Linked DNA regions of Homo sapiens: regions 1, 2, 3, 4, 5 and 6 are each linked to region 7. The links are contacts of gene promoters, found by promoter capture Hi-C in blood cells and fetal thymus (Javierre and others, 2016). All regions are on one chromosome and are shown on one strand. Each heading gives the region's core, a stretch centred on a gene start or on the middle of the fragment in contact. The rest is flanking DNA. Distances are from core to core; before and after follow the strand shown. Region 1 overlaps GNB5 (G protein subunit beta 5). Region 2 has its middle 3.5 kb from the start of AP4E1. Region 3 overlaps LYSMD2 (LysM domain containing 2). Region 4 has its middle 3.6 kb from the start of TMOD3. Region 5 holds the start of GABPB1 (GA binding protein transcription factor subunit beta 1). Region 6 has its middle 5.2 kb from the start of BNIP2. Region 7 holds the start of RSL24D1 (ribosomal L24 domain containing 1).

What was found. Contacts are between HindIII fragments. The CHiCAGO score rates a contact against its expected background, and 5 or more counts as called.
Region 1: a contact is called between a fragment that was not itself captured here and the fragment with the promoter of RSL24D1 in region 7, in 1 of 17 cell types (non-activated CD4 T cells). The highest score is 5.4, in non-activated CD4 T cells.
Region 2: a contact is called between a fragment that was not itself captured here and the fragment with the promoter of RSL24D1 in region 7, in 3 of 17 cell types (non-activated CD4 T cells, total CD8 T cells and naive CD4 T cells). The highest score is 7.4, in non-activated CD4 T cells.
Region 3: a contact is called between a fragment that was not itself captured here and the fragment with the promoter of RSL24D1 in region 7, in 4 of 17 cell types (non-activated CD4 T cells, naive CD4 T cells, total CD8 T cells and 1 more). The highest score is 13.1, in non-activated CD4 T cells.
Region 4: a contact is called between a fragment that was not itself captured here and the fragment with the promoter of RSL24D1 in region 7, in 2 of 17 cell types (non-activated CD4 T cells and activated CD4 T cells). The highest score is 13.0, in non-activated CD4 T cells.
Region 5: a contact is called between the fragment with the promoter of GABPB1 here and the fragment with the promoter of RSL24D1 in region 7, in 1 of 17 cell types (non-activated CD4 T cells). The highest score is 10.2, in non-activated CD4 T cells.
Region 6: a fragment that was not itself captured here is called in contact with the fragment with the promoter of RSL24D1 in region 7 in 1 of 17 cell types (fetal thymus); the score reaches 7.9 in fetal thymus.

The regions. Positions count from the first base shown.
Region 1 is chr15:52,175,076-52,177,775 of GRCh38, reverse strand. All of the region lies in intron 3 of GNB5 (G protein subunit beta 5), which reads left to right. Among named protein-coding and RNA genes, the nearest start is that of CERNA1, 3.6 kb to the left of the region's middle. The HindIII fragment of the contact is 4,470 bases long and covers 1-2,700 here.
Region 2 is chr15:50,903,798-50,906,497 of GRCh38, reverse strand. No RefSeq gene overlaps it. Among named protein-coding and RNA genes, the nearest start is that of AP4E1, 3.5 kb to the left of the region's middle. The HindIII fragment of the contact is 188 bases long and covers 1,224-1,411 here.
Region 3 is chr15:51,728,650-51,731,349 of GRCh38, reverse strand. All of the region lies in intron 1 of LYSMD2 (LysM domain containing 2), which reads left to right. Among named protein-coding and RNA genes, the nearest start is that of LYSMD2, 7.7 kb to the left of the region's middle. The HindIII fragment of the contact is 4,514 bases long and covers 1-2,700 here.
Region 4 is chr15:51,824,707-51,827,406 of GRCh38, reverse strand. No RefSeq gene overlaps it. Among named protein-coding and RNA genes, the nearest start is that of TMOD3, 3.6 kb to the left of the region's middle. The HindIII fragment of the contact is 641 bases long and covers 1,022-1,662 here.
Region 5 is chr15:50,353,748-50,356,447 of GRCh38, reverse strand. GABPB1 (GA binding protein transcription factor subunit beta 1) reads left to right here and starts at 1,250. Exons shown (of 9, transcript NM_016654.5): 1 at 1,250-1,463. It overlaps GABPB1-IT1 (GABPB1 intronic transcript), which reads left to right and starts at 1,569. Exons shown (of 1, transcript NR_026891.1): 1 at 1,569-2,700. GABPB1-AS1 (GABPB1 antisense RNA 1) reads right to left here and starts at 2,274. Exons shown (of 1, transcript NR_024490.1): 1 at 1-2,274. RefSeq lists enhancers at 697-776, 845-1,468, 2,207-2,266 and silencers at 977-1,026, 1,607-1,856, 1,867-2,076. The HindIII fragment of the contact is 652 bases long and covers 805-1,456 here.
Region 6 is chr15:59,693,163-59,695,862 of GRCh38, reverse strand. No RefSeq gene overlaps it. Among named protein-coding and RNA genes, the nearest start is that of BNIP2, 5.2 kb to the right of the region's middle. The HindIII fragment of the contact is 5,936 bases long and covers 1-2,700 here.
Region 7 is chr15:55,195,683-55,198,382 of GRCh38, reverse strand. It overlaps RSL24D1 (ribosomal L24 domain containing 1), which reads left to right and starts at 1,442. Exons shown (of 6, transcript NM_016304.3): 1 at 1,442-1,573. The coding sequence starts at 1,493. RefSeq lists enhancers at 1,478-1,637, 1,431-2,322. The HindIII fragment of the contact is 1,416 bases long and covers 41-1,456 here.

The DNA of each region.
Region 1 (2,700 bases), core at 90-2,589, 3.0 Mb after region 7:
CATAAAGCCTTTGCTTCTTGAAGGTTCTTATCACTGTATTGACCTCTTCCCCTTTGACATGTCTCCTGATCTCCCAGCCAGGTTCTCTCATTTCTCTACTTTTCTTTTCTTTTTTTTTTTTTTTTGACACGGAGTCTCCCTCTGTCACCCAGGCTGGAGTACAATGGCACAGTCTTGGCTTACTGCAACCTCCACCTCCCAGGTTCAAGTGTTTCTCCTGCCTCAGCCTCCCAAGTAGCTGGGACTATAGGCATGTGCCACCACACCCAAGTAATTTTTGTATTTTTAGTAGGCTTCACCATGTTGGCCAGGCTGGTCTCGAACTCCTGACCTCAAGTGATCTGCCCGCCTGAGCCTCCAAAAGTACTGGGATTACAGGTGTGAGCCACCGCACTCAGCCATTCTTTTCTTTATTCATCTTTATTTTTAAGAGACAGGGTCTCGGACCGACAGGGTGGCTCACGCCTGTAATCCCAGCACTTTGGGAGGCCAAGGCGGGTGGATCATGAGGTCAGGAGATTGAGACCATCCTGGCCAACATGGTGAAACCCCGTCTCTACTAAAAATACAAAAATTAGTTGGGCATGGTGGCAGGTGCCTGTAATCTCAGCTACTTGGGAGGCTGAGGCAGGAGAATAGCTTAAACCAGGGAGTTGGAGGTTGCAGTGAGCCGAGATCTTGCCACTGCACTCCAGCCTGGGCGACAGAGCGAGACTCCGTCTCAAAAAAAAAAAAAAAAAAAAAAAAGGAGGAGCTAGGCAGAGGCCCCAGGAGGGGGTGTGTTTGGTGTATCTGATGTATCTGAGGAAGAGTGAGGAGGCAGGTGTGTCTGGAGGGGAGTATGCAGGGCAGAGTCCAGCTGCAGGTTATGCTGGGAGCTCATGCAGGACCCCATGGGTGCAGTGAAGATTTGGGCTCTTACTCCCAGTGAGTTGGGAAACCCTTGGAGGGTTTTGAGAGAGAGGATGGATCTGATTGCTTTACTGGGCTCACTCTGCCTGCCATGTTTTGTGGCAGAACAAGACAGCTTGAGGGAGGGAAATGAAGTGTGAGAGGTAAGTGACCTGGGGTAAGAGTTCTTGACAAATGTCTCTTTCCCTCTTATCAGAGAGCCTACCTTGCGTGCCACTTGCCAGCTCCTAATGGAAGTTACAGCTGAAGGTGGAAGAGCGAGAGATGATTTCTGAGCTTGTCTTGGTCCCATAGTTGACCCTGCAGCCGCTCTTACCTTACCCCAGCCCAGACTCGCCCAGCTCCTTCCTAAGTGTGTTTGTCCCTTGGCACTCAGGTGGGAAAGGGAGGAAAGGATGCTGATGAGTTTTACTTGTGGAAGTATAAGCTAGAGCCCTGCCAGGTGCAAACAACAGTGCTGTCATTTTTCCCTGTATGAAGGAAAGTGGTATCATCCCCATCTGTGCGATGAGCGAGCAGGCTTAGCAAAGTCGAATAATTCCTTCAGGGTCATGCAGCTGGTTAGTGATTGGGCCAGGATTCAGTTTAGGAATGATGCAGCTTTCTTTGCAGGGCTCCCCATTGAGCAAGTGGCTGAGAGCCTGGGGGAAGGTGGGAAGGGTCTGGTGAGGCTGGGGAGGACCATAAACTGAATCTGTTCACTCCCCAGAGCAGGGGCTGGCAGCATGCACTTTCCTGTATCTCTTATGGTGACTGGCAGCCCCTTAGTTAACAGATGTTTTTGTTTGTTTGTTTGTTTTGTTTTGTTTTTTTTTGAGATGGAGTCTGGCTCTGTTGCCCAGGCTGGAGTGCAATGGCATGATCTCAGCTCGCTACAACCTCCACCTCCTGGGTTCAAGCAGTTCTCCTGCCTCAGCCTCCTGAGTAGCTGGGATTACAGGCACATGCCATCACACCTGGCTAATTTTTGTATTTTTAGTAGAGACAGAGTTTCACTGTGTTAACCAGGCTGGTCTCGAACTCCTGACCTTGTGATCCGTCCACCTTGGCCTCCCAAAGTGCTGGGATTACAGGTGTGACCCACTGCGCCTGGCCGTTTTTTGTTTGTTTGTTTGTTTGTTTTTTGAGACGGAGTCTCACTCTGTCGCCCAGGCTAGAGTCCAGTGGCACAATCTCAGCTCACTGTAAGTTCCACCACCCAGGTTCAAGCGATTCTCCTGCCTCAGCCTCCCAAGTAGCTGAGACTACAGGCATGTGCCACCATGCCTGGCTAATTTTTGTATTTTTAGTGGAGACCGGGTTTCACCATGTTGGACGGGCTGTTCTTGAACTCCTGACCTCAGGTGATCTGCCCGCCTCAGCCTCCCAAAGTGCTGGGATTACAGGCGTGAGCTAATGTGCCTGGCCTGACAGATTTGTTTCTGACACACACAGGCCTTGTTTCTTGCCCAGCTGAGATTCCCAGCCCCTGCTTCGTGATGACCTCTGCAGATATTTCCCATTTTGGAATCCAAGGATGGTTTCCTGTGAATTGGGAATGTGTGGCCAGACACATGAGTTTTATAGTACCAAATTAGGGTATGCGGCTGACACCAGAGGGGTATGGTTTATTCCCCAGAGCAACATGTGTTAGATGCCTGTACATTTTTGCATTTTAGTGTTGCTATATAGGTGGCCCAGTAGCCTCTGCCCTAGTCAGGGAGACCCCTTTAGGCTATCAGCTAAGGTAATCAACTCATCCCAGTTTGCCTGGGACCCTAGGTATGTGTGTTTGTTTGTTTGTTTGTT
Region 2 (2,700 bases), core at 68-2,567, 4.3 Mb after region 7:
TCAGCCTCCCAAAGTGCTGGGATTACAAGCGCGAGCCACTGCGCCCAGCCAGAAAGGGATACTCTTTTAGAATTTAATTTTGTTATTTTATTATTATTTTTTGAGATGGTGTCTCGCTCTGTTGCCCAGGATGGAGTGCAGTGGTGTGATCTCGGCCCACTGCAACCTCCGCCTCCCAGGTTCAAGCAGTTCTCCTGCCTCAGCCTCCCGAGTAGCTGGGATTACAGGTGCGTGCCACCACACCCGGCTAATTTTTTGTATTTTTAGTAGAGATGTGGTTTCACCACGTTGGCCAGGATGGCCTCGGTCTCCTGACCTCATGATCTGCCCGCCTCAGCCACTCAAAGTGCTGGGATTACAGGTGTGAGCCACCACGCCCTGCCTAGAATTTAATATTTTGTCGTCCGGGCGCGGTGGTTTATGCCTATATTCTAGCACTTTGGGAGGCCAAGGCGGGCAGATTGTCTGAGCTCAGGAGTTCCAGACCAACCTGGCCAACATGGTGAAACCCCGTCTCTACTAAAAATACAAAATATTCGGACAGGCACGGTGGCTCCCACCTGTAATCACAGCACTTTGGGAGGCCAAGGTGCACAGACCACAAGGTCAGGATATCAAGACCAGCCTGGCCAACCTATGACTCTACTAAAAAAATACAGAAATTAGCCGGGCATGGTGGCGTGCGCCCGTAATCCCAGCTACTCGGGAGGCTGAGGCAGGAGAATTGCTGGGACCCGGGAGGCGGAGGTTGCAGTGAGCCGAGATTTCACCACTGCACTCCAGCGTGGGCGACAGAGCAAGACTCCACCTCAAAAAAAAAAAAATACAAAAAATTTAGCCGGGCATGGTGGCACACCTGTAGTCCCAACTACTTGGGAAGCTGAGGCAGGAGAATTGCTTGAACCTAGGAGGCGAAGGTTGCAGTGAGCCAAGATCGCACCACTGTACTCCAGCCTGGGTGACAGAGCAAGACTCTGTCTCCAAAAAAAAAAGGAATTTAATATTTTATCTTTAAATTAAATTTTGTTTTATGTATAGTTTTTTAATTTTAGGTTCTTCCATTGGCTTAAAAAGGGGATACTAGAAGATTCGCTTTCTAACCTTCCCGTCTGTAAAGATGCCGAAAAAGATGAAGCTGACATCAGTATCAGAATTCACTGACTCAGGGAAAGGGAGAAATCTGGTCGAAACTATAAATAACAAAGGAAAGTATGACAAAAGCTTCTTTCTTTCCCTTGGCATTAGAGATGTTAATCACTTGCCTTATTTTATGTCATTCAACAGAACATTTTCAAATACTATTATGGTGCCAATCAAGTTGAGGCATCATTTTCAGACCAGTCAGAATTTAAAAGAAAGGGAATTTAATACTTTCAACATAGAGATGATATGCTTTATAAAAGCCAAAGCTTTTGTATTACCATTTTCAAAGTAAAAATGAAAAACCTACTGAAGCATCTTACACATGAAATTATTATATTTCATTGATAGGAGAAGGACATGCAATAGCTAAAAGACTAATGAATGCCTGCTAGCTGATAATCAGTAAAAGAACTCATGGGAGTGCTACTTTCCAAAGATGCAATAACTCACCAAATTAGACATTTAGTTGCAGGCCAGGCGAGGTGGCTCATGCCTGTAATCCCTGAATTTTGGGAGGCCAAGGCAGGCGGATAACTTGAGATCAGGAGTTTGAGACCAACCTGGCCAATATGGTGAAACCCTGTCTCTACTAAAAATACAAAAAAAAAAAATTAGCTGGGCATGGTGGTACATGCCTGTAATCCCAGTTATTCGGGAGGCTGAGGCTGGAGAATCACTTGAACCTGGGAGGCAGAGGTTACAGTGAGCTGAGATGGTGCCACGGCACTCCAGCCTGGACAACAGAGCAAGACTGTCTCAAAAAAAAGAAAGAAATTTAGTTGCAAATATAAAGACTGAGTTACTATGTCATCTGCAGAATTATAATTCCTTTAAAATGGACATAATTATTCATGTAGCTGGACTTGTTGCTTTGCTTATACCCATCCAGTGTCAGCACCAACTAATTCTTGAAGATCCTCTTTTACATAAATCTTGACAAGAAACACAAGTGGTGATGAAATAATGTATTGAACAACTTCTTTGAATCTCATAGTTTATCCTGGAACAATACACTCAATTTTTTTTAAGTCAGTTTCACTTAAGAATATCCTTGATGAAGCAGTAAGAATTCTTAATTTTATTAAATTTCAGTCTTTGAGTGCACTTTTTAAAAAATTTTTTTTGTGACAAAATGGGAAGTACTCATAAAGTACAACCTCATAAAGTATAAACTCTTAAATCCTGAGGCTTTTCTTTTGGCCGGGTGTGGTGGCTCAGGCCTATAATCCCAGCACTTTGGGAGGCTGAGGCGGGCAGAGCACCTGAGGTCAGGGGTTCGAAACCAGCCTGGCCAACGTGGTGAAACCCCATCTCTACTAAAAATGCAAAATTACCTGCGCGTGGTGGCACATGCCTGTAATCCCAGCTACTTGGGAGGCTGAGGCAGGAGAATCACTTGAACCCGGGAGGCGGAGGTTGCAGTGAGCTGAGATCGTGCCATTGCACTTCAACCTGGGCAACAAGAGCGAAACTCCGTCTCAAAAAAAAAAAAAAGAAAAAGAAAAAATTCTTGAGGCATAACTGAGATAAGATAGTTTCTCAAGGAAAAGCATTTGT
Region 3 (2,700 bases), core at 80-2,579, 3.5 Mb after region 7:
AAGAGAAGATAACTATAAATAGAGCCACCAAAAGTGAGAGGTATGGCAAAGTAGCCTTTAGTCATTCGGGGTGTTTGTAGATTCTCATTATTTTTTTAAACACCTTTATTGAGGTTGTACACCACAAAATTCACCCATCTTAAGTGTACGATTCGATGACTTTAAGTAAATTTACAGAGTTGTGAGGCCATTGTTGGAATTCAGTGGTAGAACAGTTTCATCACCCCGAAAAGATCCCCATGCCCATCCATTCCTCTCACTCTTTGTTTCCTTCTTCAGTCTCAGACTACCACCAATATGCTTTCTAATCTATAGATTTGCCTTTTTTGGACATTTGCCATAAATAGAATCTCATGTACTTTTCTGACAGTGTGGGGAAGAAAAAAAGCCTTTTTCTCATGAACACATAGCAATGGAGGGGTCTGGTCTCATTGCCATCAACATCTAGAATGTAACAGGAGACAGATGTGGCGGTGAATCTTGGGAGAATCATTTAATATTGAAGTCTGTTTTCTGTAAACTAATAATCAGATGAGAGCTGTGTGCGTATATGAGAACATTCTGCAAGCCACACAGTGCTATGTACATGTTATTATGTATCCTGAAACATTTTTGGATGAGCTTATATCTTTTAAGGAATGGAGAGGAAGAAAAAGAAGTTTTGAGAATTGCATTCACTATTAGGTAGGTGGACTGATGATGCTGGCCCAAGATGGGAAGAGTTCTTGACCTTACTCAGCAGCCTGCTCTTAAGGTATCTTCTGGAGGGATGCTTTGTGAATTCCCTTCACAGGGGAATCATTGTATTTTATTTTATTAAAAAAAATTTTTTTTGAGACAGGGTCTTGCTCTGTCACCTGACCTGGAGCGCAGTGGCGAGATCTTGGCTAACTACAGCCTTGACCTCTCAGGCTCAAGCGATTCTCCTGCCTCATCCTCCCAAGTAGCTGGAACTATGGGAGTGCACCACCACACCCAGCTAAATGTTTTGGGGGATACTTTTTGGTAGAGATGGAGTTTCATCATGTTACCTAGGCTGGTCTCAAACTCTTGGGCTCAAGCAATCCATCTGCCTTGGCCTCCCAAAGTTTTGGGACTACAGGCATGAGCCACCACGCCTGGCTGGGGAGTCATTTTCAGTACGTTGTTTTTAAGTTATTGATGGCAGTTGTTCTACCTAATTTCACCATACTTGAACTTGTGACCACCCTTTGGCTGTTACTTTCCTTATTCTATAAACTGTTTCTTAGTGACCAGACAGTAAATTCATATTTCATTGAGTTACACTATTCAATCTAGGTTAAGGGAGACTTTTGAAATGAAAGCATTTGATCAGTGTACCTCCCCACTCCCATTCATCCATCCCTAAGAAACAGAGGATAGTCCTGCATCAGTTTGAAAGGACACATTTTCTAGTCTCAGCATTAATTGGATCTTAGGAAGTGTTGAACAGAGGGTAGGTGGGAAAGCTATAGAGTTTTCCAGCTCTTCCTTGGATTGGATCATGACTTTTCTTAGCTTTATATGAAGTGAAATTGCCAGAACAGTAGACCCAGCTACGTTCAGACAGAAGTATAAAACATACCAAAGGAGGCCAGGTGCGGTGGCTCATGCCTGTAATCCCAATACTTTGGGAGACCGAGGCAGGTGGATCACAAGGTCAGGAGATCAAGACCATCCTGGCTAACACGGCGAAAGCCCGTCTCTACTAAAAATACAAACAATTAGCCAGGCATGGTGGCATGCACCTGTAATCCCAGCTACTTGGGAGGCTGAGGCAGTAGAATAGCTTAAACCCGGGAGGAAGAGGTTGCAGTGAGCCGAGATCGTGCCACTGCACTCCAGTCTGGGTGACAGAGCGAGACTGCATCTCAAAAACAATAAAAATAAATAAATAAAAACATACCAAAGCAAAAGAAAACATCGTTTCACCATTTTGTATTTTTCAGTTTGTTGTCTGTGCTATGGCAGGTGCCTCTTTCTTGCTAATCCATTTTCTGCACCCAGCTGCTGAAGCAATCTTTAACTGTGATCAGATCATGTCACTCCCTGCCTTCACTCTCCAGTGGCTTCTCATCACATTTAAAATAAATTCCAAATTCCTTAACTTGGCACCCAAGGCCCTGCCTGGTTGGAAGTTTGCTTATTACTCCCTACACTTTAGCCACATGATTTTTTTCCTGCCCCAGGGCATTTGCTACTCCTTTTTCTAGATGGAATGCTTTTATTCCTGGCGCTTTGCATGTCTGATTTCATATTTCATCATGGGTAACAGAGTTTAGAGCCTATGCATTTGGCCTAAGCCATAGCTTGTAAAGAACAGGTTAAGATTTTCATTACCTTTTGAAAAACCTATTCAAAGCCTTTTGTGACATCTCAAAGCAGTGATGATATATTATGGTATTCATCTGGGCTTATCCATGTGAGATTTTCCCTATATATTCTTACTTTGGGGGAGAAACAAATTTTTTTTTTTTTTTGAGATGGAGTCTCACTCTGTCACCCAGGGTGGAGTACAATGGCACAATCTCGGCTTACTGCAACCTCTGCCTCCCAGGTTCAAGCGATTCTTCTGCCTCAGCCTCCCTAGTAGCTGTGATTACAGGCACCTGCCATCATGCCTGGCTAATTTTTGTATTTTTAGTAAAGATGGGGTTTCACCATGTTGGCTAGGCTGGTCTTGAACTCCTGACCTCAGGT
Region 4 (2,700 bases), core at 93-2,592, 3.4 Mb after region 7:
GCTATTCATTTCAAATTTTTCCTAACGAATGTATACATCTTATTTTAGTTCCTTTTTCTAAAATAATGCAGTTTGATGGTGGATTTTTTCCTTTCTTCAGGCATACATTATCATATTTTTATCACAAAGCTTATAAACATGAATCTCTTAAATCCGTGTACATTAAATACCACATATGGGGCCAGAGATGTTAAGAGTAATACCTTAGTATTGGATAGCACTGAAGAGGTAGAACCTTCCTCACTTCTTCCACTCCTTTGCTATAACACATTCGCTATATTAGCAGCCAGAATGACTTTTTTTTTTTTGAGACGGAGTCTCTGTCTGTCGCCCAGGCTGGAGTGCAGTGGCGTGATCTCTGCTCACTGCAACCTCTGCCTCCGGGGTTCAAGCAATTCTGCCTGCCTCAGCCTCCCTAGTAGCTGAGATTACAGGCCCCCCACCCCACCACACCCAGCTAATTTTTGTATTTTTTTAGTAGAGACGGGGTTTCGCCATGTTGACTAGGCTGGTCTTGAACTCCTGACCTCAGGTGATCTGCCCACTTTGGTCTCCCAAAGTGCTGGGATTACACGCGTGAGCTACCACTCCCAGCCCAGAATGATCTTTTAAAAACAAATCAGATCATATCACCATCTTGCTCCAAACCGTTCATGGCTTCCATCACATTTAGAATAAAATCCATAATTAACACCTCTACAAATCTGTATATGATTGTTTTGTTTCCTACCACATATTCTCTCTGATACTGCTCTAGTCATACTGGCCTCCCTGAGGTTTCTTAATCCTGCCAAGTTTCTCCCCATCTCAGAGTCTTTATGCTGTGCAGGAGAATGATTTTCCTCCCAGATGCTTCTAGCTCATGCCCTCATTTTAATGAAGGTTCTGCTCACATGTTACCTCTGAAAGTCTTCCTCTTACCACCTTACCCTGCCATTCTCTCCTTTCTTTACTTGTCGTCATAGCACTTTTACCACATAGCTTCATATTGCTTGTTTCCTTAGTGGAAGCTCAACAAGCTTTGCTTTGTTTACTCCTCCATCCCTAGCATCTACAATACTGCCTGCACACAGAAAGTATTCAATAAATATTTGTAAATAAATGAATGTTGGGTTCTTCCCTCTCTCTCCTACTCTCCTCTTGGGACACAGACCCAGAAGGTTCACCTGTAAATGCCAGCCAGTGACCTGATTTGGATGTAAACACCAGCTGCAAGAGGGTTGACTACACAGGAGAATAAGATCCTGTGAAAGTCCTGAAATAGAGACAGAGCTCTCTTTTAAAAAGGCTATAATTTAGGGTTGCCACTATTCCCTTAGAGTTGGAAACATAATTCTTGGAGGAAAACAAACAGGAAAAACATGGAAATTAGATTTACATAAATAAGTGAAAAGGTAAGTCCACTAAATACCTGTGGTAGATTGAAATATTGTTCCCACATATTTGCTCTCCTTTAGAGGAATAGACAGGCTTGCCCACTACTATGTGACTTCCAGTGCTGCCCCGCAGGCATTCCAGGCTTGGCTATGATCCCATGATGGGATTTTCCTCCTCTCTTCGGTTAAATGTCATATTGTAATCACAAAGTTTAGAAACATGAATCTTGCTTTGGTCAATAAAATATAAGTGGAAGGGACAATCCGACAGTTCTGGGTGGAAGCTTTAAGAGTCACTGCCTTTCTCTACTAGTGTGCCTGCTCTTTCCCTCCACCAAGAGAGACAAGTTCTGAATAGAGGCTGGTCCTTCTGCCTGGGTTCTAGAATAAGAAATTACATGGATCAGAGCCTCAGCCACTAGCTGACATAATATATAATGTGAGCGAAGGGGAAACTGAGGTTTAGGTTCGTTTGTTACTATAGACTTACTTAGCAAAAGCTGACTACTATAGTGCCTAATCAAAGAAACATGATGATCTGAACTAGAAGTGGTATGGCACCCCCAACCGTCTGCATTTAACCCACTTCAAGTAATGGAAAACTGTTGAAGTTCAACAGGCTAACACACTACAGAGAACAAATCTGAGGCCTTCAGGTAAAATATTTGAACAAGGGACAGAGTATGGTTCCCATTAGTGTTCAGGGTTTGGTTAGAGTGAAAGTGATTGATAAAATGACACTTCAACTCTACTTTATGTGTTAATATTACAAGCTCTAATTAGTGTTATCTCTAAACTTCCAGCCAGAATAACTCAGAAAGCATGTCACACTGAATCATCGTATGCTAATTAATAACAGCAGCACTTTTCTTGTTATCAAAGAGTTCCTTTAGGAAATAGTTACTTTGGTATATGTAAGCATATTTTGTGTGTATGTAAAAACGTGTATTTATAGGAGAGCTGAGAAAAACTAAAGACAAAAATTTGAAATGAAAAGGGAAGGATTTCATTATGGAAGCTTGGAGGTAGGAATCCTATGGAAGCAGTGGGAGGTAGCAATCACAGAAGACAAACATCATGGCTGGGTACATACCGGTTTTTTTTTTTTTTTTTTTTTTGAGATGGAGTCTCTCTCTGTCACCCAGGCTGGAGTGCAGTGGCGTGATCTTGGCTCACTGCAAGCTCCACCTCCCGGGTTCACACCATTCTCCTGCCTCAGCCTCCCAAGTAGCTGGGATTCCAGGTGTGCACAACCATGCCTGGCTAATTTTTGTATTTTTAGTAGAGACGGGGTTTCACCATGTTGGCCAGGCTGGTCTCAAAC
Region 5 (2,700 bases), core at 1-2,500, 4.8 Mb after region 7:
GAAAAACATCAGAATTTGGCAAATTTCTATTAACTGAAGAAATGAAAATATTAAATCAAAAGAAAACACAGCCTATGGTTCCTATGCTTTTTTTCTATTTTAGGCACAATGCTTTAATAAATTACACAAAGACTACAAACCTTTATTACATCAATTGTTACAAAAGGCTAAGTGGAGAAAGATTACTTATCTGAAGCTGCACAAAATCAGTGGGCAATATGGATTTCATTTAAGCTTGTCAATTCTCCTGGATTAAATTCTTGGCGCTGTCTCACATATTCCCAAGTCCTACATGTAGGATGCTAAAAGTTGCAGTTACTAGGTTGGGAAAGCCATGCCCAGACGCCCCTGTGAAAAACATATCAATATATTAAGTTCCTTAGCAAATCACATCTAGATTAAGTTCATAATGCTTTTTTTTTTTTTAACTTTGCAAATCTCCAAACTTTTGCTACTTTCTTAATAAAATACAACAAAATTTTTGGCATTCCAGCCACGGAAAAACAGATCTCTACCTCTGAGGTGGCAGTAATCCAAGCAGTTACTAGGATCTACGAAACATGAGGCATAATTAGAATGTTGGGGAAAAAATCTACAGAAATATCTATATCTTCGTCATGAACCTGACTGTTGAGTTTATGAAAAAGTGGAAAAGGAACCTCACTCGTTCCTTCCCTGGTACCTTCACAGCGTCTCCCGTCCCAGTCTGCCTAGTTGAATCTAGGGACACTTAAAGGTAAATCCTAGCCTCTTGGCTGTCCTTCCGTCTCCCAGGATTCTGCTAGGCCGCACAGTTGGCAAGCTTAAAACTCCAAAGATTCCGCACTCTCCGTCTTTCAACAGTCATGTCACAGAGACACGAAGGTTAGCACAGGAACATTAGTTTCCAAACTCCTACCCACCGCAGAACAGGCGGGAAGGTTCGGTGGCCACCCGGCCTCTCCGCCGCGCACATGGCCGTCCGCAGCTCCCACCCCCGCTGCCGCGCAGGCGCCGGGCGAGCCGGGACTTGCGGTCGCCGAGAGCGGATCATTCCGCCGCTTTCTTTGTGTGGCTGAAGCGCTAGAAATGGCATATTTTCTTTCCCTTCGTTAAAAAATCAGACCCTCTTTCCCCTCTCTCCCCGCGGGAACACAGCTAGGGAGTGGGTAGGAGCAGGATCTGCCGACGAGGGCAGAGGCGGAAAATCCTCGGGCGATGAGCTGAAGAGGGCCGGGTCCGGGAGGGATGCTGGGAGCTTGACTCACTCGCACACCATGTGTCCCTCCGCGCGCAGCACGGGGGACTTTTCGGTGGGGATTTTGGGCGCCGACCAGACGCGGCATTTTCGGAAAATAGCGCCCTGTGCAGCTGAAGCGCTTTGTGTGTAGCGGGGCCGCGTCAGCCCGGCCGGGTACGAGGCGCCTCGGGTCCCCGCACCACCTCCTGCTGCCTTCCCGTCGCCGCTCCCGAAGCTTTTCCAGGTCAGTGCGGGTCTGTGTAGGGCCCTGTTACCACCGGATGTGGAAGTTGATCTCTTCGCTGGTAAAAAATAATTCCACTTCCCCCGGAACCCAGATCATCCCCGCGATTTCCTGTTTATTGCATTAAGGCGCCGGGTTTCCGGGGCTCCTGGCCCCGCTTATTCCGCGGGGGTCGGCGGGGTCGGCCTGGGCGCCCGCGCCGCCGCTGCGCTTTGTCCGCTGGGCACACTGCTTCTGGGAGGGGCGGGCAGACATGGTGGCGGCCGCCGCCCCCTCCTCGGCCCTAGCATGCCGCGGCCGCCTCGCGGCTACCCGGCTTGCCGGTCCCGAGCGGCAGCCCCGGGGTGGCGATGGGGTCGCGCCGAGGCAGCGGAGGTTCTGCGGGCGACTGGAGGTTGGCAGTGGGCGGGAGAAAGAGGAAGGCAGGCGCGGCTGGGCCTCGGCCTCTGGCGCCGCGGTACCCTTTGTCTCGGCAGCCTGACGGCCCCGCCGGGCTCTCCGGAGAGGGGAACGGGCGGCGAGGGTGGCGGGTCCTGGGCGCCCTGTGCTGCGGGGCCGAGAGGCGCTCGGGTCGCGGCGGGATCGGCCGGACCAGACAGGGTTAATGGAAGAGCCTGGCCAGTCCCGCGCGGGGCCCCCGCAGCGACAGCCTTGGCCGCGGGGACTGGAGTCCTGAGGGGGAGAAGCCTGCCGTTCTGAAGGCTCGGGACTTCTGCCCCAAAGACTTCGCCGCCGAGAACTGCGGGTGCACTGCCTCAGGGAAGAAGTTGAGAATTTTGCCAGGTCATCTCTGCCAGGGCACAGTTCATCACTGTGTGTTTAGTGTGTTTCGGTGAAGCTCTCCAAGTGTGTTGAATCAGCGTGCCTAGCCTCAAGGGTGCATCGTGAAAACTGAAACCAAAGGAATGATACAGGCCTGCTTTGTGTGTGTCTTCCCACTTTAAGCTTGTTTTCAGTACAAATACTCTTGCTTTAAACCTGATTGGACTGTGGCGAGCGGACATCTGTTCAAAGGAGGGGCCGAGACCACAGTACTTCTGAAGGGGGCTTGATAATGTGGAAACATTTTAAGTTTTCTCTCCGGACTGTTTTGCTCTCTCAATTCAGGCAAGTTACTGAAGTACGTTTTTTATCTAGAAAAAGGTTTGATGTAGTCTGTAAATGGTCCTTGTAAAGTACATTGCCATCTCAGAATTAAAAGATCCACTCTCATTTATTATGCAGAAGTTAGTGGTCA
Region 6 (2,700 bases), core at 134-2,633, 4.5 Mb before region 7:
AGCCGCTCCACCACTCACCCTGAACACTGTTATCATTCTTTTTTTTTTTTCTTTTTCTTTTTTGACACAGAGTCTCACTCTGTCACCCAGGCTGGAGTACAGTGGCATGATCTCAGCTCACTGCAACCTCCGCCTCCCAGGTTCAAGCAATTCTCCTGCCTCAGCCTCCCAAGTAGTTGGGATTACAGGCACGCACCACCACGCCCAGCTAATTTTTGTATTTTTAGAGACAGGGTCTCACCATTTTGGCCAGGATGATCTCAATTTCTTGACCTCATGATCCGCCCACCTCGGCCTCCCAAAGTGCTGAGATTACAGGTGCGAGCCACCACACCTGGCCTATTATCATTCTTTCAAGAAGTTGTCAGAGGGCCTGTTCTCATCAGTCTGATACATCACTCCCTGTTAGCATAGGTCAGATGGTGTCTTCTGCCTCCCCGTCTAGCCATCATGTCCATGCCTTCAGCCTTTCATCACTATCCACCACTCTCGGCACAGGCTCAACACCTCTTCCAAGTCTATGTTGGCTGAGCACTTTTATTTTAATGTACAAAGTGTGACAAAGTATCATAAATGCTTTTAACACATACTGAAGCATATATTCAAATGAGTGCTGCCTTTCTCAAAGTTCGTTGTCTTAGGAGGACTCATCCTAACGCTGCTGCCACTGTGCAGGATACCTTTCAATCTCTTCTTTTGGAATTCGATTATAAATTAATAGATGATTCCTTTTCCACATTGCTCATTATATTGGCTACAAATAAATCCTTACCATTAAAAAAAATCCCTTTTTAATCTGGCCTTTGACTACTTCCTTTTTGTTAAGGGCTATTTACAGCCACCCCTTCTCCCATTGCTTGTGCTCTGGTCATGCTGAACACTGCAGTTCCTAGAAGCCTCTGTGAATCTGCATATTCCAATTCCCTCTGCCAGAAAGATCATCCTCTTGTTACTAAGCTCAAGATCTCCTCATTCAGAAAACCTCTACTGCCTTTATCTCCCACTCTCTAATCTGTTTAGCTCCCTTCAATTTAGCTGCACCTTAAAAGTACCAAGGTCACCTCAATCCACCAAATTGTTTATTGTCTTCATTGCTCCTCTCCCTAACCAGTTGATAAGCTCTTTGAATGCAGATACTATGTCTTTTTTTTTCCTGCATCCTCGGGGCCCAACAGCATTGATTTATGATATTGTTCAATAAAGATTTACTGGCCAGGTGTGGTGGCTCCCACCTGTAATCCCAGCAATTTGAGAGGCTGAAGCAGGCAGATCACTTAAGGTCAGGAGTTGGAGACCAGCCTGGTCAACATGGCGAAACCCTGTCTCTACTAAAAAATGAAAGTAAAAAGATTAGCCGGGTGTGGTGGCACACGCCTATAGTCCTGCTACTCTGATGGCTGAGGCACAAACCCAGAAGGCGAAGGTTGCAGTGAGCCAAGATCGTGCCACTGCACTCCAGCCTAGATGGCAGAGTGAAACCCTGTCTCAGAACATATATATATATATATCTCAAGCGGGCATGGCAGAGCACTTCGAGAGGCTGAGGCAGGAGGATTGCTTGAGGCCAGGAGTTCGAGACCAGCCTAGGTAAAATAGCAAGACCCCATTTCTAAATAAATATTTAAATAAGTAAATAAAGATGTATCAAATGAATGGATACTTGAAAGAAGTGGGTAATCTAAAATGACAACTTTGAAAGTAAACATTCATTTGACTGAGTCCTAGGTGAGTTCAAGAATTACTGGATTATTCAATAAATGCTTTTACACAAACTCTTTAGTCAGTTTAGTAAAGTCAGACTCCCTATTCATATCATAAGCACATACACAAAATGCCAATTGGATTTAATATTCATATGTAAAAAAAAAAAGAAAAGAAAAAAGAAAAAGAAACTATAAGACCACCAGAAGAAAACAACAGTGATGGGCCGGGCGCAGTGGCTCACTGTAATCCCAGCACTTTGGGAGGCTGAGGCGGGCGGATCACGAGGTCAGGAGTTCAAGATCAACCTGGCCAAAATGGTGAAACCCTGTCTCCACTAAAAATATAAAAATTAGCTGGGCGTGGTGGCAGGCACCTATAATCCCAGCTACTTGGGAGGCTGAGGCAGATAATTGCTTGAACCCAGGAGATGGAGGTTGCAGTGAGCCGAGATCACGCCACTGCACTCCAGCCTGGGCGACAGAGCGAGACTCCGTCTCAAAAAAAAAAGAAAAAGAAAACAACAGTGACTATACAATTTTAGTGTGAGGAATGCCTATTTAAACATAACACCAAAAACTACACAAGAAAAGGCTGACCATGGCTCTGAGCTAATGTATCACTCTCCAAGTGTTACCTGCTATGTAGGGCATAAGGGCTGGAAGCCATGCTTTTTTTTCCACGGAATTTTTCCCCAATTTTTAAGAGCTTAAATATCTGCCTATTCAAGGAAACAATAAGTAATTGTAAAAATACCCTAAATCTTGTCCAAAAAGTCTGGAAACACAGGGAATACAGTGGGTTTTTTTGTTTGTTTGTTTTTTGAGACAGAGTCTCGCTCTGTCATCCAGGCTGGAGTTCAGTTGCGCGACCTCGGCTCACTGAAACGTCCACCTCCCAGGTTCAACCGATTTCCCTGCTTCAGCCTTCCAAGTAGCTGGGATTACAGATGTGTGCCACCACACCCAGCTAAATTTTGTATTTTTAGTAGAGGTGGGG
Region 7 (2,700 bases), core at 193-2,692:
ACAACATATTTCTGCATGGAAAAATACCATGAGCAAAGCTTAAAACATTGATAGGGAAATAATTTCTAAATGCATGTCAGCAAAGGACTAACCTTAACGTGTAAAGTGCTGTTGAAAATCAACGAAAGAATAGAAAACTGCGTAGGACCTGAACAGGCAATTCACAGAAAAAAGCTGAAAAACATTGTGAAAGATTCTTAACATCATTTGTAATTAAATTCAAGTTGAAATAATAATAAGATAAATTTTCATCTCAGGTTGGCAAAGATCACTTTTCACAGCGGGGTAGTGAAACAGACATCTTATTTGTTGATGCTGAGTGTTAATTGGTAAAAACTTTTGGAAGGCAATTTAGTATTATCTGCCAAATTTTAAAACTATTTATCTATATCCAGCTCCTCTGATCCAGCAGTTCTACATAAACCCTCTCCTGAAAAAGCGTACCAACAGATACTTATTATATCAAAAGATAAGAATGCCCATCGATTAGTGACCAATTAAAATACTTTCATACAATGGCATATATATATGAAAAAGAATGTTAAATACCCTTTTACAGTAAAATATGTATCAAATGCCTATTATGTGCCAGGGACTGTTCTAGATACTGGGATGTAGTTGTAAACCAAACGAACTGAAATCCCTGCCCCTCATGGAGCTCACATTCCAATGAAGGGATACAAGGTAACAGCAAGATGCAGAAAAGAGTAAATAGCATATTAACTAGTATTATAAAGAAGAGGACGTAGAGACAGGCAAACACACAAATATACATGTTTGCCTATGCACAGAAAAGCTCTGGCAGGTAATAAATGGAACTGTTTTGCCCCTGGGGAGGAAGACCGCAGGTCTAGGGAGGGAGTCGTAGTTTCCGGCGAAAATATTTGTTTACTACATATGCATATTAATTAAAATGGGGGGGAGGCGGATAACACGATTTTATATTTAAAAAAATTGCTGGTAAAGTCCTTGGAGCATCAGCAACTCAACCGTTTTCATTGCAATGTTCGAAGCAACGCTGGATTGCAGGGTCTTCGCCGCTTACACCCTGCAAATCACTGTGGGACGAGAATCGAGGGCTGGTCTAGGGCAGGCAGTAGACAAATGAGTTAAGAGAGTGCTCTCGAGAGCACTCCGAGGCAAAGCACAAACCAAAGATACATAATACTTGCATAAATGCCGACACACAGAGAGAAAAAACTAGGCGCTGTGAGAGCAAGTTCACAAGGTGGCGCAGAACCACATTTCCCCAAAGTAACAGCGAACAGGTCTAGTCTGCAGCTCTGCGCCTGCGTCAAACGGCAGCGCATTTGACCACACGGCCGCCGGAGGCACAGTCGTGTTCGCATCTGGTCTAACAGACCCGCGAGAACGAAGGACGCTTGCCTTTTTCCGGTCGGGGAAGGGGGAAGAAGGTAACTTCCGGTGACGGGGTTGCATCACTTCCTCTCAAGCTTGGCGTTTGTTTGGTGGGGTTACACGCGGGTTCAACATGCGTATCGAAAAGTGTTATTTCTGTTCGGGGCCCATCTATCCTGGACACGGCATGATGTTCGTCCGCAACGATTGCAAGGTAAGGCGGTCGACACCAGTTCTTGCTTCAGCCTAGCTCCCGCGGTTCCTGGGCGCGGCGGCTCGGTGCTGGGTGCTTCTGCGTCTGCCGTGTTTGGCCCGGGTTCCTCCCGTTGTTCCCCTGGGAGGGTGGCTTAACTGGGCCTCCGTTCTCAACGTTCCGCTTCGGGGGTTTCTCCTTGCCCGTCTTCCGAGCGGCGCTGGCCACCACGCCACCCTTGGGTGGCGTTGGCAGCGAGGAACTTCAGGAGCGATCCCAGCTAGCGCCTACCAGGAATCTTGGATGTCTGTGAGGGCTGTTTGGCCACTCATGTACTTGGGCCAAATTCTTGAATCCAGTAAACTTTGTTGAGTGTATACCCTGTCAGGCATTACACTAAGGTCCATACTAAAGTGTAGAGGTTGATGGAAGTGTTCCGTATTGCTTAATGGTAGAGTTATGTATTAAGTTACTGCAGGTGAGTTGGGGAGGGTCCTGTACGGAAAGACTCAGCATAGAGGTGATATTTATCTTGGATCCTGAATTTTGCGGAAGAAAGCGGAGGGGGCCTTCTAAGTGGAAGGAAAGTGAACATTTTGAGAAAAGGCAGAGAACGGAGCAAATACATTTGTTTGAGGAAGTGACTGGATTGTAAATGATGATAGAGCCTTGGGCGTAGGGCTACAAGTATAATAAGTCTGTAAACGTAAATAATAAATATGAGTCCTAGTTGTGAAAGACGTTTTGAATGGTACATGAATTTGTCCTGTCATTACAGAATGAATCCCGTTCCTCTCTTTCTCAGAGAAACACATTGTTTCTCAGAATTTGATCTCTTACGTTTGCTTCTGAATTACTGGGCGTTTACAGATTCCTGGTTTTCACCAGATCTATTGAGTTGGAATCTTTGGGGGAGGGGAAGAGGGTCTAAGAATCTGTATATTAAGGTGAATTTGACGTGCTAAATAATTACAAGTCTGACTTCTTCACCTTATATCTCTGTAACAGATCAAAGATATTGACCTCATTAATTAGATCCAAGGGATTCAGCTGAAAGTGACGGACCAAAGCCATGTTTGATAACGTAAAAGAACCTAGAAGATTTTGAATACTTGCTCTCAGGAACATGATAAGAAGTTTATAAAAAT